2 separate regions of the Homo sapiens genome follow, and region 2 is linked to region 1. The links are contacts of gene promoters, found by promoter capture Hi-C in human tissues and cell types (Jung and others, 2019). All regions are on one chromosome and are shown on one strand. Each heading gives the region's core, a stretch centred on a gene start or on the middle of the fragment in contact. The rest is flanking DNA. Distances are from core to core; before and after follow the strand shown. Region 1 holds the start of PDE6D (phosphodiesterase 6D). Region 2 overlaps INPP5D (inositol polyphosphate-5-phosphatase D).

Region 1 (5,639 bases), core at 1,471-3,970:
TAAAAGCAAAGATTTCTGAAATCCAATGCAAAAAACACTAACCATAATAAAAAGCACGGAACTATTGCACTGTGTTAAAATTAAGAATTTCTGCTTGTCAGATGCAGTGGAGTACACCTATAGTCTTACTATAGCTACTTGCGAGGCAGAGGCAGGAGGATCACTTGATCCCAGGAGTTCGAGGTTGCAGTGGGCAATGCTGGTGCCTGTGAATAGCCACTGCATTCCAGCCTGGGCAACACAGCAGAGACCCCATCCCTCAAAAATATAATTTGTTTCAAAAGACACCAGTAAGAGAGTGAAAAGACAAGCCATGCCTTGGAAAAGATATCTGCAAAGCATATATCAAAGAACTCCATATCCAGACTGTAAAGAACTACAAATCAATAAGAAGACAGCCCAATTTTTAAAAGTTGGGAAAAGAACAGGCACTTCACGAAAGAGGACGTTCAACTAGCCAACAAGCACATTGAAAGGTGCTCAACATCAGGAAAAATGCAAATAAATACCTTAATGAGATACCACATTCAGCCAGAACGGCTACAATTAAGAAGACTGACAACAAAACTCTTGTGTTGACAAGGATAAGAGGCACCTAGAACTCTCTCATATTGCTGGCAAAGGCGTAAATTGGTACAATCATTTTGAAAAACTGGCAATGTCTACTATCACTGATCATGTGCATACCCTCCCTACACACTAGCAATTCCTCTCCTAGAAATGTGTGCAAGTGTCTACAAAAAGAAACATGTAAGAATGCTCACTACGGCTTTGCTAATAATAGTCCAAAAAATAACAACCCAAATGCCCGCCAACAGTGGAAAAGATAAATTGTGGTATAAACATACAACAGAATACTATTCAGCAATTAAAAGGCTACACACAACATGGATGAATTTCACAAAAATACTGATAAAGTAAAAAAGCCAGACACATACTGTACATACTGTATTATTATATTTAACTGGAATTCAAGAACAGAGAAAACTGATCTATGGTGATACAGTCAGAAGAGTGATTATCTCAATATGTAAGGATGTAATACTGATTGGGAGGGAGCACTAAGTGTGCTAGAAATGTTCTATATCTTGATTTGGGTAGTGGCGACAGGGGTGTATACCTATGTGAAAATTGTTCCCATACTGTATGTTACACCTCATTAACAAAAAAAAAACTTTTTTAACATGGAAAAAAAATTCAAGTTCAAATGCCACCTTGTCCATTAAAGTTTTGCCAGCTGCAATGAACCTTTTCATCAGGGCCTCCTTAGCATTCTGATGTCATTTCTTTATGCCATTTTATCACACTCCATCTTGAATCTCAGTGGAGTCTCCTTATTTCCCTAAATATATGTTCATCTTCCTGGTGGCAGTGACCATGTCCTTCACCTTTTACCCACTCAGTGCCTGACAAATAACAGGCTGAAAAGATATTTGTTGAATTACATGGAAGAAAAAATTGGGTGAGTTCCCAGATGGGTGAAAGTGGGGACAGGCAGAGGAAGGAAGGCCAAGAGAAGGACAGAGGAGGTTTCCAAGGAAACCGTGGCTCACACTGTAATTTTACCTACTTCCTGAAATCACATTAAATGTCACCTTGAGTGGCAAAAAACAAAACACCAAATCCTACCTAGGCTGAAAATAAATAAATATCACACTCCCTCACTCGCAAGAAATCCACCAAATAAATGCTACCTAATTCTGGGTGTTTCAACAGTGGATAGGAAAACCGTTCAAGGAGAATAATTCACATTGCCATGCTGCTAAAAATATCACCTCCTTAGTGTGGTGCAAAGAGTCCAGACTGCAAGTCAGCCGACTTAGGGCTGAATTCTAACTCTGCCCGAACTTGCTGTGATCTGTGGCCAATCCCTTCGCCTCTCTGGGCCTCAATTTCCTCATACGTAACAACAGGGGATAGATTAGCAAAGTCCCTTTATGTTTTGATATTCTGAGTATACAATCCATAGCTCTCCCGGTGCAAACCAGGAATACAGCAAAAAACCCTGAAATACATGTAAAAGGCGCCTCAGACCAACAAACAAGCACGATTTGAAGAAGTCATTTTGTTCTCTTTCACGGTTTAATCAGTGTTTTTGTTTGTTGTTTGCAGCCTTACCATGATTTGCAGATGTCTGAGTTCCATGTAAACAGAAGTTAACTCTCTGCGGGCTGTCATCTTCTTTTGAGGGTGAGAAGGGTCTTCCCGTTGGGTTTCAAGTCTCGGGATTCCGAAACGACCAACTCAGCGGGCGGGTTTGTGAATTTGCGCACACTGCGCGGCACACTGGAGTCTAAGTTACAGAGGAACCGAGTGCAGGGGATGCTGGGATTTGTAGTCCCCGGGCCTCTTTGTGGTGCGCTGGGATCTGTGGTCCCCCGAGTGCGCCGCTGGAATGCTGGGAAATGTAGTCTCTGTCGCGTCGCACAGTGCAACTCAGCTGCCGTCTCAGACGGCTAGTGTGCTCAGTGGCTGGAGCAGGTCCCTAAAGCCTCTGCAGATCCGAAGCCAACCCTCCGCTGGGACAAACTCTAGGCAACAACACCAGATGAATATTGTGTCCTATGGGACTTCCCGGGGAGGGCCCTTCCCATTGACGTTAACAGTCCCCCTGCGAAGCCGCTGCGCGCTCCTACTGGCTGGTTGAGATGCCAATCGCCAAGGCTGGCTTTCCATTGGTTCCAGGAGGGCACTGCGAGGCTAGGGGGAAGGAGAAGGGATCAGAAGCGGGAGCTGAGGGGAGAGAGAGGCCGGTCCTGGTCTGGCCGCTGCGGCTGCTAGCCCGAGGTCTCCAAGCCGGGCTGCGGCTCCATCCTCGGCTCCTGGGCACCGTCTGCGAGGCTCCGCCGACCAGAGTGAGAAAGCCGCGGGCGGCGACCGCCGCATCATGTCAGCCAAGGACGAGCGGGCCAGGGAGATCCTGAGGGGCTTCAAACTGTATCCGTCCGGGAGCGGGGCGGGGCCGGGAGGACTTGGGAGGCGGCCGCTCACTGAGGAGACTGGCCGGGGGCGGGGGCCGCGCCAGGTGGGCCCCACAGAAGAAGGGCCGCGGGAGGGGAGAGGAAAGGAACAGCGTGCCGAGCACCCGGCGGGACCCGGCGCGAGAGGCGCCCCAAGGGGCGTCCTGAGGGAGGAAGGGGACGTTGACGGGAGCGCCGGGGGGTGGCGGGTGGAGACGGGGGAGCCTGGGGGACGGGGCTGCGAGAGGTGCCGGGCGTCGGAAACGCTGTCGGAGAAGCCGGCTGGGTTCCGATCCCCGGCCGGGACCCAGAGGCCGGGATGGGGCTGCGGCCCGCGGAGAAGGGCTGAGGGGGCGCGGTGGGCTGATCTCGAAGCCTAGAAGCCTCTTTGGCTATAAGCCTACCCGGGGAGCGGGGAACAGTGACTTGGAGCGGGCGACCTTGTGTGGGACAAATACCAGTGCTTTTAAAACTCTCTCAGGTCCCCCACCGCACCGCACCGCACCCCACCCCCGTCTGGTTTCCACAACTTCTCTTCCAAACTTGTGGCTTCTTCCAGGACTGGAGTAGTTGGGGGAGGTGGGGAAAGAGAAGTCCAAGATCGACCTCGTCTTAACACTCTTGGCCTTCTCAGGCATTGGTCACTGCTTCCCCCTCAGCGCCTCAGTTTTCTTTCCAGCAAGATGAGGACCATAGGCTTAGGTGTGGGGTGCCTCGCGCTGGGACTCCTAGCCGAGGTGTCTTTGCTCGCTCCTGTCGGTGCGGTTATGCCTAGCTGTGGTGGAGCTGTCCAGCAATGGTGTGATGTCGCTGGGGCCACGGTAGGATAGAGTGGGGTAGAGAAATCATTGCCTCGGGCCTGTTGTGGTGCCCCTTTTGCATCCTCTCCGTAAGGAAGCTTTGTGTTTTCGTGGAGTGTGTTAGTCTGTCACCATATGATGCAGATGAAAAAATGCAAACTTGGATATTCAAATTTTCCATTCTCCTGCCAACTTTAATCTCTTCATGCATCCTATCTGTAATCTATAGTACGAACGTTCTTAAATTGCTCCCTCAGTGAAAAGGTAGTCACCACTTCAGGGCTCCTCCCTTGGAGGTTTAGTAAAGCACTGTTTTCTTGGTATTCTGTTGCGTTTTCACAATGTCCATGTCACGCTTGCAAATTTAATTGCTTTGCTATAATCAGAAACCAAGTTGGTAATACATTTTAGACCACAGTGCAAAAAGGAAGTTTTGGATGTACAAGTGAGATTTTTCGAATGGAAATTGATCTATGCTTTTTAAAAAAACTAAAGGCTGTATCACCTTTGCATACTACCATCTGTGATAAACTTTCAGTACTTTCATGTTTTGGTTTAGTAGCAGCCTCTTTTATAGCTCCATGTGCCTTTCTGTGTTTCTCTCCATAATGGATCAAATAGGTATATAGGGATGACTGAAGTGCTGGAAAAGCTATGACATGGATTTTATTTTTCCCTCAAATAATTTATACTATTAACATCTAACAATGTAATAATATTGCTACTTAACATGCTTTGTAGACAGTAAACCGGAAACTGGAGAATTGAGAGATTTCAGAAGCAACGTTTTCATCTGATTGGAAATACCGTATTGCTGAAAAGAAGAAAGGCCTTTTTAATGGCTTTTGAACAAAGCAGAAAAGTTTGAGCTTCTCACCTTCAGTCTTAGCTCTTGAACCTGTTGAGAAAGAGGATAAGAGACAAATACGGAAAAGAGTTTCAGAAAGCAGAATCTGTGTCAGCCCACTGGAAGGAAAAGCGAATCAACCGATTCAGTGATGTTAGTGCATCCAGAAACAGGCTTTTGGGAAAAGCTTGACCTGAGCTGATTAAATCCTGAAGCACAAGGGAAGCAGCCACATCAAAAAGTTAGCATGAGAGCAGTGGCGTGCTCATCCTCTGGTAGCCTTTACTGGGCATTTGTGGAGTAAGAGAGAAAAGAAAAGCAGGAATGTTAAGATATGCTACTACCTTCAGGAAAAAGTAAAATTAATGTTTTAGTAAGAAACTGACTATTGTCCACCTTTTATTGGGTAAATAGATTTTCTGAACTTTCTTTCAGAGTATCTGTTTCTGTAAGAATAGTTTATCACTGCAAAAAGAGCACCATTATGTTCTCCCACCAGCAGTGTTGATAGTACTCAGTTTTCCACGTTGACTAGGTCAGTCTTTTTTATTTGCCAGTTTGGATAACAAATGATACATTGTTTTAATTGGTATTCTTCTGGATCCCTAGATCCATGAAAAGGTAATGTAGCATAGTGGTTAAGAGCTATACTGGACTATGTCTCTATACTGCCTGCATTGGAATTCCAGCCCTGCGCTCCTAGTTGTGTGTCCCTGAGCAACTGCTTTAACCTCACCTCAATTTTCTTATCTGTAAGATGGGGAAAATAATAGTACCTATCTCATGGGGCTGTAAGAGTAAATGAGTTGATATCTAAAGCATTTAGAAAAGCACCTGATCCACAGTGAGCATTATGCTTTAGCCAGTGTTATTCTTGTTATTATTAGAGAAGTTGCACATCTCTTCTATTTGGCCATTTCTTTTTCTTCTGTAAATTGTTTGTTAATTTTGTTTTTGCCCATTTTACTATTGTTTATTTTTCTTATTTGTAGATGTTCTTTACATATTGTAATATCAATCCTTTGCCTATTA
Region 2 (5,639 bases), core at 1,648-4,147, 1.3 Mb before region 1:
GTAGGAAAGAGGCTATCTTGGCTGGGTGCGGTGGCTCACACCTGTAATCCCAGCACTTTGGGAGGCCAAGGCGAGCAGATTACCTGAGGTCAGGAGTTCGAGACCAGCCTGACCAACATAGTGAAGTCCCATCTCTTCTAAAAATACAAAAATTAGCCCGGCATGGTGGCAGGTGCCTGTAATCCCAGCTACTTGGGAGGCTGAGGCAGGAGAATCACTTGAACCCAGGAGGCGGAGGTTGTGGTGAGCCGAGATCATGCCATTGCCCTCCACCCTGGGCAACAAGAGCGAAACTCTGTCTCAAAAAGGAAAGAAAGAAAGAAAGAAAGAAAGAAAGAAAGAAAGAAAGAAAGAAAGAAAGAAAGAAAGAAAGAAAGAGGCTATCTTATCCCTATGTCTGTTTTTAAGACAAACAGACCTTTACTAGAAGCCCACAAAGCCCTTCTCTTCACATCTCATTGGTTACACTTGCATCCCATTCCCCAGTCTAAACTTATCGGCTACATGGTGCATGTTGATGTTAGTTCTAGACCGCTTTGGGTAACAAAGACAGGAAACAGGCCCATGATCTGGGGCAAGGTGAACCAGAAGGCTCTGGAACATGGAGAAACAAGGACAAAATGGCTAGTGGGGATGGGGAGAAAATAAAGACAGTCATTTGGAGGTAGAGATGACAAATGGCATGGATACTCTTTCCAGAATTCTCTGACAGACTGGGGAAGGGATTAGGGATCTTGCAGCCACACAAGAGGGAGGGGCTGCTCAGTCACAAAGGCATGTGTACCCCAGGGGGCTAGAAAACGGGGGGAGGCTTGGCTTTCTCAGGGGATTAGAAGAAAGATGCCAGAAGAGCTGGAATAAAAACTTACTCAAAGACCTAACAGAAGAAAGGTCTTTTGTGTCAAAGAACAGAGTTTGCAAAGTGAACAAGCCGAACACATTGCAGGTACTATCAATGAAAGGAAAATGACAACACTGGAAAAGAATTCCCACCGGCTTCAAAGTAGAAAAAAAGAAAAAAATGGGTCGCCTCTATAGGAACCAGCACAAGTTTGGCCTTGGATTTTGTACTCGGAACTATTCATAACGCTACATTCTTTTTTTTTTTTTTCTTTGAGACAGTCTTGCTCTGTCACCCAGCTGGAGTGCAGTGGTGAGACCTCAGCTCGCTGCAGCCTCTGCCTCTCAGGTTCAAGCGATCCTCCCACCTCAGCCTCCGGAGTAGCTGTGACTACGGGCATGCACCACCACACCCGACTAAGTTTTGCATTTTTAGTAGAGACGGGGTTTCACCATGTTGCCCAGGCTAGTCCCAAACTCCTGACCTCAGGTGATCCACCTGCCTCAGCCTCCCAAAGTGCTGGGATTACAGGAGTGAGCCACTGCACCCAGCCTGTAACACTACATTCTTGAAGGTAGTGCTGTACCTTTTACAGGATTTTGAGCGAACAGTTGGTTCCAAGAATTTTATATCTATCAAATTACTCTTGAATGTGTAGACAACTAAAGATGTTTTGAGATATTCAGAGGCTTGGAAAATAGATCTGTCCATATTCTGCAGTAGACAGAAAAACCAATTCAAAATGCAGGCTTCTAGAAGGTGAGTGTCAGAGCATAAAGGAACCCCTCCACCAGCACGGACCCCCTTGGGGCCCATTGTCCTTGGCATGGCTGTGGAGCCCACACAGGGCAGCCCTGGCCGTGCTAGGCTTCTATGCCCTGAACCTTTTCTGTGCCCCTTGTTGTGCAACTTCAGGAAGTGTGTTAGAGCCACATCCTTTGCCCGGCGGCTCAGACGGAATCTTTACTTCACTCAGTGACCACTCAGAACAATAACAGCTGCCACTCGCTTCCTGAGCTTAATAACAATGGCTCAACCGTTCACCTCCCGGATGCTTGTGACGGAACAGCTTTTAGAAAGTTGTTTTGTTTTCCCTCTCCAAAAGCCATGTCGCCCGGAGATACGTGACAGCCACCGTCAGGGACCAGGGACTTGAGTCACAAGTGTCTCTTCTTTAGAACTCACCGGAATGGCTCAGACCACTGGATTTTTTCTTCCAAATCGGGAAAGAATAATGAAAGGGTCTATGAGATAGATATTTTCTAACTCTTCATCTAAACTTGCATGAAAACCTGGGAGTGTGGCTGGGCATGGTGGCTCACGCCTGTAATCCCAACACTTTGGGAGGCTGAGGCGGGTGGATCACTTGAGCCCAGGCGTTTGAGACCAGCCTGGGCAACATAGTGAAACCCTATCTCTACAGAAAAATACAAAATTTAGCTGGGCATAGTGGTGCACACCTGTAATCTCAGCTACTCAGGAGACTGAGGTGGGAGAATTGCTTGAGCCTGGGAGCAGAGGTTGCAGTGAGCCGAGGTCGCGCCACTGCACTCCAGCCTGGTCTACAGAACAAGACCCTGTCTCAAAAACAAAACAAAACAAAACAGAAAAACACCTGGGGGTGCTCCCATCTTGACTGAAACAATCAATATCCTAGATACAATCTCAACCTCAAGAAAAGACAGGAAGTTCACAGAGAACATTGATGTGATAGGGGATTATGGGTAGTTCTAATTTTCTGCTTTATTCCTCTCGGTGGGAAGGATGTTAGAAAGGACGCAAGGGCCAAAAGGTTGTAGGGTGGAGCCGAAGGGCCTCTTTTGCTTCAACTGTGGCCCTAGGTTTGAGACAGCCATTTATGCGACACGTCTGAGGCCACTCCAGGCCTCCCTGGCCACCCTGGAGCTGGCCCATGAGGGCGGCTTGCAGGACCTCAGACTCTTCCTTACTTTCCCAAAGAGGGGCCATTTCAAAGGCAGCAGCAGCCTCCCAGCTCAGTCTGCAGCGAGCAGCTCAAGATAGGCACCGCTTCTCTTAGGGGAGAGTCACTTCCCTTTCCAAGTCAAGAAAGGAGTTTTGGCTTTACAAGAAACCCACTCTCTTGGTGTGGGACAGTCAGGCCTGCGGGGCTGAGCCGTTCTGCCTTCGTCTGGCCTCACACAGGGCTCAGAGCACTGCCCCAACCCTCCCCCAACCAGGAAAAGCAGTGCAAGCTGAGTCCAGAAGGTTCTCAGGGTTTGAGTGGCACAGCAGCTGTTGAACAACTGCTTAACAGTTCCAGAGCGTACTCAGGTCCCTGAAGACATGAAGCCCATAGCCCAAAGAGCAGAGCTGAGGGAGATGGAGTTCCAAAATTTACCCCTCCTTCCCCACCACTCCCAGCACTGCCTAGAATGCTCTAAAGCACCTCCAGCTCCCTGCTGTCTCCACCCTCCTCCCCAGCAGCTTCCTTGTGCTGGGAGGTATGTGTGTGATCTCTACTTTCCAGCAGTTTCTTGGCAGTCCTTGCCCAAGGCCACATCGCTGACCAAATTGGACTTGAACCCAGATCCCAGCCGGGAATGGAGTCTGCTTTCATTCTAGGGGCACCTCACTGATTTACCACAAGGGACAGATGCCACCTGGGATCAAATATTATCTATAACCATGTGAAGGGCAAGAGGCCAAGCTCTCTGAGAGGCCACATTGCCCTGTCTCCCTGTCCCTCTGGGCAGAGTCCTGGGCTCATCCTTCCCCAGGGGACTCCAGACAGGCTTGGAAACACCTTCTGGATTGGAAGGAAGAAAGCTTAGCCGGGGAGGCCGGGAGGCCTGGCTGTGAGTTCCAACTTCCGCAGTTCTCAGCAACACTCATATTTAGAACGAGGGGGTTGGATGAAGTTACAGTTTGCATCCTGCCCTCCCATCTCGGATTTTTTTTAAGTCTGTGAAAGATGGAGTGAGAGAAAAGAGTCCCCCAGGTGAGGCAGCTCCTCTCCCTGATTGATACAGGGCTGTCATGGGCTATGACACGTGGGCCAACTCCATGAAGTTGGTCTGCAAAGAACAAAGATGAGATCTTTGGTGTTGACAAGAGAACAGAAGTCCCCAGGAAAAGAGCTAAAGTTACTAAACTAAGAAACAATGAAAGCCTTTCGGTGCTTCACTTGGCAAAATTTCAGGCCAGATTCTTATTTTGGGGAGCCTCGTATTCTGGTGGCACTGAACAGGCTCAGGTGTCAGGAATGAGTTATTTAGAAACTGTGGCTAAGCTCAGAAAAGACTGTGAGGTTTTGCCTCAACATGAAAAGAGGAACTTGAGTTAAAATAGGCAGAGATCAATAACTGCTAAAGCTTCCCCGAAGGGCTCTGAGTCTGCTTAATTGGGCATGAGTGTGCACTTGGTCCTCAGTGGACGTCTGCTGTCATTTACTCTTGGAGGTAGATTTTCGAAGGTGAGTCCACCTGGGAGAATCCTATGAGAATTCCCCTTTAATTCACCTTGAAGGAAAACCTCTTCAGACCACCTAGGTCCACAGCTCCCTGTACCATGTCAGCTACTGCGGAGGTCACAGATCTAGTGCCGGGGTCAGGAGCAGAGAAGTCCAGCAGAGCCGCCCATCTTCTCTGAAAGCTGCCCGCCCACTGTCCTGGCTAAGCGGAGACCTTAAGGAGGCACGCTGCCCCCACGACTCTGTCCCCATCTCTGAGAGGCAGAGGGGGGTACCTGCTCCAAGACAGCCGATTCATACACAGACTGGCAGCCCCTGAGTGGCTCATGCGGAGAAAGCCGTGGAGGCTGAGCCATCAGACTCCTTCTTAGGACTGGGGACTGAGAAGGGAGGCTGCTGGCTGGGAAGAGCGGCCCCACAGAGAAGAGCTGATCCATGGGAGAAGCTGCGTGCAGACCCCATGCTCTTCTGGTTCCAAGGCCCTAGGGCGGCCTTCTCCTTCCTGGCTCTGCACATCTCCACAAAGGCTGCCCACCCCTTACCCCTTACAGAGTCAGCCAAGGCGAGTTTCTGTTCCCTGCACCACCACCACCCCCTGCCCAGTAGCCTGATGAGGCCCCGGATTTCATCAGCAGTTCCCAGGGTCACAAGATGTCACAGTAGCAAGAGTATGATGGTGACAGAGAGGGGCAAACCGGAGACGCAGTCTACACATTTACAGGCGGCGGGTGCCGACTCTACTAGAAGCCACAGAGTCATGTCTTTTCCAGTCATACTTAAAGTTTTCTTCACTTTGAAGGAAGAGAAGAAACCACAAAGGGAAAAAAGATCAAAAGCATCGACCAACTTTTAACTTAAGAGAGTTTGCCGACTCCTCTCAGCAAACCACCTATCACAGATGCCAACTCTGCCAGAAAAGCTCATGCCCTCCTAGACTTGAAAAAAATGGTAGAGGTCATTGAGGCCAACTGCCTGCCCCAGACAGGGCTCCCCTCCGCTGCTCACATCCCACACATGGTGAAGAGCCCCTGTCAGAGACAGACATTCCCATGGCAAATAGCTGCCAAGCGCTGGAAAGGACCTTCTCGTACTAGGTGTGCCAACATCTGCTCCTGGTGACTGCTAAGAACCAGGCCAAACCTGCGGGCGCCCTAGGCCAGTGGAAAGCCTTCAGCAGATGTGCCTTAGAGGCTGCAGTGGACTCAGGGGCAGGAGGATGAGGCAGCCGGCAGCAATGCCAGCCTAACTACGCAGGGAGTGGTTCTGCTTGAGCCTAAACTCGCATCTCCTAAGGAGGCCTCGCAGCAAATGCCCCTGGACCGGGCTGCATCACACATGCCCCTTGGGCCTCTCTCAATCACATCGCTC

What was found. Contacts are between HindIII fragments. The study calls those that stand out against the background at their distance.
Region 2: a contact is called between a fragment that was not itself captured here and the fragment with the promoter of PDE6D in region 1, in 1 of the 25 tissues and cell types used here (H1 embryonic stem cells).

The regions. Positions count from the first base shown.
Region 1 is chr2:231,778,363-231,784,001 of GRCh38, reverse strand. PDE6D (phosphodiesterase 6D) reads left to right here and starts at 2,720. Exons shown (of 5, transcript NM_002601.4): 1 at 2,720-2,937. The coding sequence starts at 2,888. It also overlaps a transcript of COPS7B not described here. RefSeq lists enhancers at 2,694-2,923, 3,474-3,553 and silencers at 3,134-3,183, 3,307-3,530. The HindIII fragment of the contact is 5,328 bases long and covers 1-4,326 here.
Region 2 is chr2:233,080,859-233,086,497 of GRCh38, reverse strand. The region is part of intron 2 of INPP5D (inositol polyphosphate-5-phosphatase D); the gene reads right to left. Among named protein-coding and RNA genes, the nearest start is that of INPP5D, 23 kb to the right of the region's middle. RefSeq lists enhancers at 1,625-1,674, 4,045-4,194, 4,705-4,794 and a silencer at 1,665-1,959. The HindIII fragment of the contact is 4,211 bases long and covers 792-5,002 here.